2 separate regions of the Homo sapiens genome follow, and region 2 is linked to region 1. The links are contacts of gene promoters, found by promoter capture Hi-C in blood cells and fetal thymus (Javierre and others, 2016). All regions are on one chromosome and are shown on one strand. The core of a region is centred on a gene start or on the middle of the fragment in contact, and the rest is flanking DNA. Distances in the headings are between cores, read along the strand shown.

Region 1 (2,971 bases), core at 412-2,911:
AGTAGAGACGGGGTTTCACCGTGTTAGCCAGGATGGTCTCCATCTCCTGACCCCGTGATCCGCCCGCCTCGGCCTCCCAAAGTGCTGGGATTACAGGGGTGAGCCACTGCGCCCGGCCCAGACGTACCTATTAAAGAGACATCCTGGCTGGGCACAGTGGGTCACGCCTAATCTCAGCACTTTGGGAGGCAGAGGCGGGACAATTGCTTGAGGCCAAGAGTTCGAGACCAGTCTGGGCAACAAAGTAAGACCCTGTCTCTACAAAAAAAATAAAAAATAAAAGGTAGATCCAATTCATTCAAATAGTATTCACTAGCACCTACAATGTTCCGAGCCAGGTGCTGAGTATCATGGGAGAAAAAAAAAAAAAGCCAGAGTCACAGCTCTGGCAGGGCGTGGTGGCTCACGCCTGTAATCCCAACACTTTGGGAGGCCGAGGCGGGTGGATCACCTGAGATCAGGAGTCCGAGACCAGCCTGACCAACATGGTGAAACCCCGTCTCTACAAAATACAAAAAATAGCCGGGTGTGGTGGCGCGCACCTGTAGTCCCAGCTACTCGGGAGGCCGAGGCAAGAGAATAGCTTGAACCCGGGAGGGAGAGGTTGCAGTGAGCCGAGACTGCACCACTGCACTCCAGCCTGGGCAACAAGAGTGAAACTCCGTCTCAAAAAAAAAAATAATGATAATTTTGGGAGGCCTAGGCGGTCGGATCACCTGAAGTCGGGAGTTTGAGACCAGCCTGACCAACATGGAGAAGCCCCGTCTCTACTAATAATACAAAATTGGCCGGGCGTGGTGGTGCACGCCAGTAATTCCAGCTACTTGGGAGGCTGAGGCAGGAGAATCTCTTGAACCCGGGAGGCGGAGGTTGCGGTGAGCCGATATCGCGCCATTGCCCTCCAGCCTGGGCGACAGAGCGAGACTCCGTCTCAAAAAAAACAAAAACCAAAAACCAAAAAACTAAGTACGTCTTTTAATCTATTTCTCCAAAGAAGCTTCTATATTCTACTTTCCAGCCAGCCCCTAGAAACAAGCAGTATACTTCTACCCAGATCTCAACCACACTCCCGCCCAGAAGTTAACTCTGGGGTGAGCAAAGCTGGCCCCCACGTTGTCCTTCCGCAGAACCTTTGGTAGGGTAAGCTCCCGGGGCCACTTCCCGCCAACCCCTCCCTGCAGCCCAGCCCCACCCGCGCATCCCCGGGCGTGGCCGAGCACGGCGCCTTTAAGAAGGGGGAGGCGCCCAAGAGGAAAGACAAAGCCCCTGGCCGCGCGCTCACCCTCCCCCTCCGGCGCACCACACGGACAGTGGTGCCCGGATGTCGGTGTCGCCGTCGGTGACAGATGGCGCAGTATCTGTATATGCGAGGGGCTTCTCCGGCTTGACCTCTTTGAGTTCTCGTCCTCTCCATCCCCCGCTGTCCCCCACTTTTAACTCTGCCGTCGGAGGCCCGCACGCCTATCACGGGCGCTTACATAACGTGACCTTTCACCTCTTCAGACTGCCCTCTAGTGCGCTGCAACCCAACTACGCGACAGGGGCAGGGGGGCGGGACCCAGGCGCGGAGCGGCAGCTCCTCCGAGCCAATAGGCTGTGAGCGCTGACCAGCTCTCCGCCTATTGGAGCATTCGCCACCGGCGCCACGGGGGAGCAAGTTAGTGTGTGCGTTGGCCGGGCCCGGGGGAGGAGGGGAATCTCCCGCCATTTTTCAATAATTTCCTCCGGTGCTGCTGAGGAGGAGTCGTGACTGCCGGCCGCCGGGACCCGAAGCGGAGGTCGGCGGGGGGCTGCTGGGAGGCGCGGCGGTGTGCGCGGGAGCTCTGCGCCGTGGCGTTCCGCTCCATGACTGTCGCGCGGCCGCGCCGGCGGTGAGGGAGCCGGAGTTCGCGCCGCCCTCTCACCCCTCCCTTCCCCCACCCCACCCCCGGGCGCCTGGCGCTCGCTCCGGGCCGCGGGGCCTAGTGCTGCGCCGCGGGGCCGGCCCCAGCAGCCGCCAGTCCCCACCGCCGCCGCCGCGATGGCGCCGCTCCTGGGCCGCAAGCCCTTCCCGCTGGTGAAGCCGTTGCCCGGAGAGGAGCCGCTCTTCACCATCCCGCACACTCAGGAGGCCTTCCGCACCCGGGAGTATCCTTTTCCAGCCGCGCGGGCCGGGCTGGGCCGGGCTGGGCCGGGGTAGGGCCTGGGGCTCGCGAGACCAGGTCAGCCGCGCATCCCCGGCCCGGGGCAGCTGTCAGCGCGCCCCGGCCGCTCGCGGGCCTGGAGGCTGAGTCTCAGCCTGCGCCCGCCGATCCTTCCAGGGGATCCGGCGGGGGGCGCGCACCGGCCCTGGAAGGAGAAGGGCCCGCTTCGGCCGCCCCCGGGGCCCCGCACTTTGTCCCGGGGCCTCGCCGGCGAGGAGCGCATCCCCCATCCCCATTACCTTCCCCGGGTTGGCTTTAGGCCTTGAGGACCCGAGAGGGAGGAGGAGGCGTGGGGAGGGGGAGCTAGGTTTTCTCCTTTAATTTTTACAAAAATTTTTTAAAAATTTAAATGAAACCTGCAGCTTAAGTTTTGAAATTGTACTCGCGCGGCCTCGTGATGCGGCGTGTGCAAGACTCAACTGCGTCTTACCCCGATCTCTGCGGGGATACTTGGCGTTTTTTTCGTCTCCCGAGGGGACTTTAGGCCGGGGATGAACTGACAGGACCCTGGGGCAGAAAACTAGGAATGAGATTCCCCGCTTAGAGGAAAGGGAGGGAAGGAAACTGCCTGTGGAGGAGCTGATGCCTGCCTTCCCTGGGCAGACACAGGTTTGAAATTTTGAAGGTTTAGAAGGAGATTGGTATTTGTTAAAATTAAACAAACAAAAAAACCAAGACGTGAAGTTTTTATGTTGTATTTTAGGAACATGAAATTGGATGTTTTACAAAGGAAGCATCCTCTCGTCATGACTAAGATTTCTTGCATAAGCATTATCTTTTAGTGAAAA
Region 2 (2,704 bases), core at 117-2,616, about 26 Mb before region 1:
CTATTTTTAGTGTTTGTGTATTTTATGTGTAGTCCAAGACAATTCTTCTTCCAATGTGGCCCAGGGAAGCCAAGAGATTGGACACCCCTGCACTATATTTACTGAATGTGTTTGTGAAGGCTGTGCATCTGAATGTCAGACTTGCTAATGAAAAATTAAATGGAGTCCATGTTTTGGGTACGGCCCTAGGCCAACCACCCACAGCCATGTAAGGCATTTAAAATACATTGATTTCTCCCTTGAGTTCAGGAGTTGGAGACTGCAATGAGCTATGATGGCACCACTACACTCCACCCTGGGTGACAGAGCAAGACCCTGTCTCTCTTAAAAACAACAGGCCGGGCGTGGTGGCTCACACCTGTAAATCCCAGCACTTTGGGAGGCCGAGGCGGGCGGATCATGAGGTCAGGAGTTCAAGACCAGCCTGGCCAACATAGTGAAACCCAGTCTCCACTAAAAATACAAAAATTAGCCGGGCATGGTGGCGCGTGCCTGTAGTCCCCGCTACTCGAGAGGCTGAGGCAGGAGAATCGCTTGAACCCGGGAGTTGGAGGTTGCAGTGAGTCGAGATTGGCCCATTGTACTCCAAACTGGGCAACAGAGTAACACTTCGTCTCAAACACAACAGCAACAACAATTCCTTATTTCCCTGAAAAGTGTGCGCTGACCAGGAAAGAAGCTTTTTTCTCGTCCGCATGATAAACTGAACCAATCAGCTACAGATGCGAGGCTGATCCAGCTCGACTTACCCTAGAAGGAATGCAAGTTGATAATGGCCAATTACAATCAAGATCACTGCACTTCCTCATTTAGCTTTCCAAGCTGCCATTGGAACAATTTGCCAGCTGTTCCTCTGCATGCACAATAAACTCTTAAAACTTTAACTGGAGGGGACTGTTAACTTTTGACAAAATCCAAAATGCCGCTTCACAATCACGTGAACACCTTCCACTAACAACCACGGCTCATCTCCCACTCTAACAAAACCAAGTCCAGGCGTTCACCATCCATTCATTCTTCGGACTTTGCTCCTCTCGCTGCCGAAGACTTGACACCGCCAAAAATACTCAAAAGCTGGTGCCACAGGCCCCGAGAGCCGCCGCACAAACCCGGAGCGTCCCCTGCGAGCCGGGGGTGTGCGCAGTGGCCTACCCCCCGCACCCACGCCCCCCACAACACTCGTTTCCTTCTCCCCAAACCTGCTGACGGCTCCGAATCTCCGCCAAGCCGCCTCCACCAGGGGCTGGGCTCTCCTCTCGGGGTTCCCGGGCCTGACCCGAGGTCTGTCTGGTCCGCGCCCCTCGGCGAATCACCCCTTACCGGAGGAACAGACACAACCACTCTGGCAGCCTCAGAGCCTCTCGCTGGCTCCACCTGCGCGCGCCGAGCGAAGCGTCCCAGCCAGCGGCCCCTCTAGGACCGCGGAGGCTTCACGACTCTCTTGTCAGACAAAGAGAGTGGCGCCCGCGCGAGTGGGCCCGAACCAATCAACGGCCGCCCTCCCCGCCCAGGCCAATCAACGGCCGGAGACAGCACCGAGAGAGTCACGTGATGGACAGGGCCCCGCCCCTCCTGTTTAATCGTAACATAATTTAGAATTATTCTATGATTCAAGAGCGACACAATTCGTTTCTTTGGCTGTGTGTTTGTGGAGGGGAGTAAGGTTATCAGATAAAAGAAGAAAAATGGGCCAGGCGCGGTGGCTTACGCCTGTAATCCCAGCACTTTGGGAGGCAGAGGCCGGCGGATCAGGTCAAGAGATTTAGATCATCCTGGCCAACATGGTGAAACCCCTTCTCTACTAAAAATACAAAAAAATTGCCGGGCGCGGTGGCTCACGCCTGTAATCCCAGCACTCTGGGAGGCCGAGGCGGGTGGATCACCTGAGGTCGGGAGTTCGATACCAGCCTGACCAACAATGGAGAAACCCGTCTCTACTAAAAATACAAATAAAATTAGCCGGGCATGGTGGTGCCTGCCTGTAACCCCGGCTACTCGGGAGGCTGAGGCAGGAGAAGCGCTTGAACCCGGGAGGCGGAGGTTGCGGTGAGCCGAGATTGCGCCACCGCACTCCAGCCTGGGTGACAGAGCGAGACTCCGTCTCAAAAAAAAAAAAAAAAAAAAAAAAATTAGCTGGGCATGGTGGCGGCGTGCCTGTAGTGCCAGCTACTCGGGAGGCTGAGGCAGGAGAATCACTTGAACTCGGGAGGCGGAGCTTGCAGTGAGCCGAGATCCCACCACTGCACTCCAGACTGGCGACAGAGCGAGACTCTGTCTCAAAAAAAAAAAAAAGAATATTAGATCTTAATTAAAAGGATAATTGTGTGGCTTATGTAAATTACCCCCAAAATACAGTTTTAATGTGAGTAAGGGGTTAATTTTTTTTCTTTTTTTTTTGAGACAGTCTCGCTCTCGCCCAGGCTGGAGTGCAGTGGCGCGATCTCGGCTCACTGCAAGCTCCGCCTCCCGGGTTCACGCCATTCTCCTGCGTCAGCCTCCTGAGTAGCTGGGACTACAGGCGCCCGCTACCACTCCCGGCTAATTTTTTTTGTGTGTGTGTTTTTAGTAGAGACGGGGTTTCACCATTTTGGCCAGGCTGGTCTCGAACTCCTGACCTCAAGTGATCCGCCTGCCTTGGCCTCCCAAGTTTTGTTTGTTTTTTATTTCTTCTAAACAAAACAAAACAAACAGGATACACGTGCAG

Evidence for each region. The method cuts DNA at HindIII sites, captures the fragments that hold promoters and counts their contacts. A CHiCAGO score of 5 or more calls a contact.
Region 2: the fragment with the promoter of ZNF789 here is called in contact with the fragment with the promoter of BAZ1B in region 1 in 1 of 17 cell types (total B cells); the score reaches 5.2 in total B cells.

Annotation. Positions count from the first base shown.
Region 1 is chr7:73,520,983-73,523,953 of GRCh38, reverse strand. It overlaps BAZ1B (bromodomain adjacent to zinc finger domain 1B), which reads left to right and starts at 1,661. Exons shown (of 20, transcript NM_032408.4): 1 at 1,661-2,127. The coding sequence starts at 2,021. RefSeq lists silencers at 1,048-1,187, 1,538-2,417 and an enhancer at 1,318-1,477. The HindIII fragment of the contact is 2,091 bases long and covers 1,000-2,971 here.
Region 2 is chr7:99,471,552-99,474,255 of GRCh38, reverse strand. ZNF789 (zinc finger protein 789) reads right to left here and starts at 1,366. Exons shown (of 5, transcript NM_213603.3): 1 at 1,200-1,366. RefSeq lists enhancers at 1,077-1,366, 1,657-1,746, 1,967-2,126. The HindIII fragment of the contact is 10,687 bases long and covers 682-2,704 here.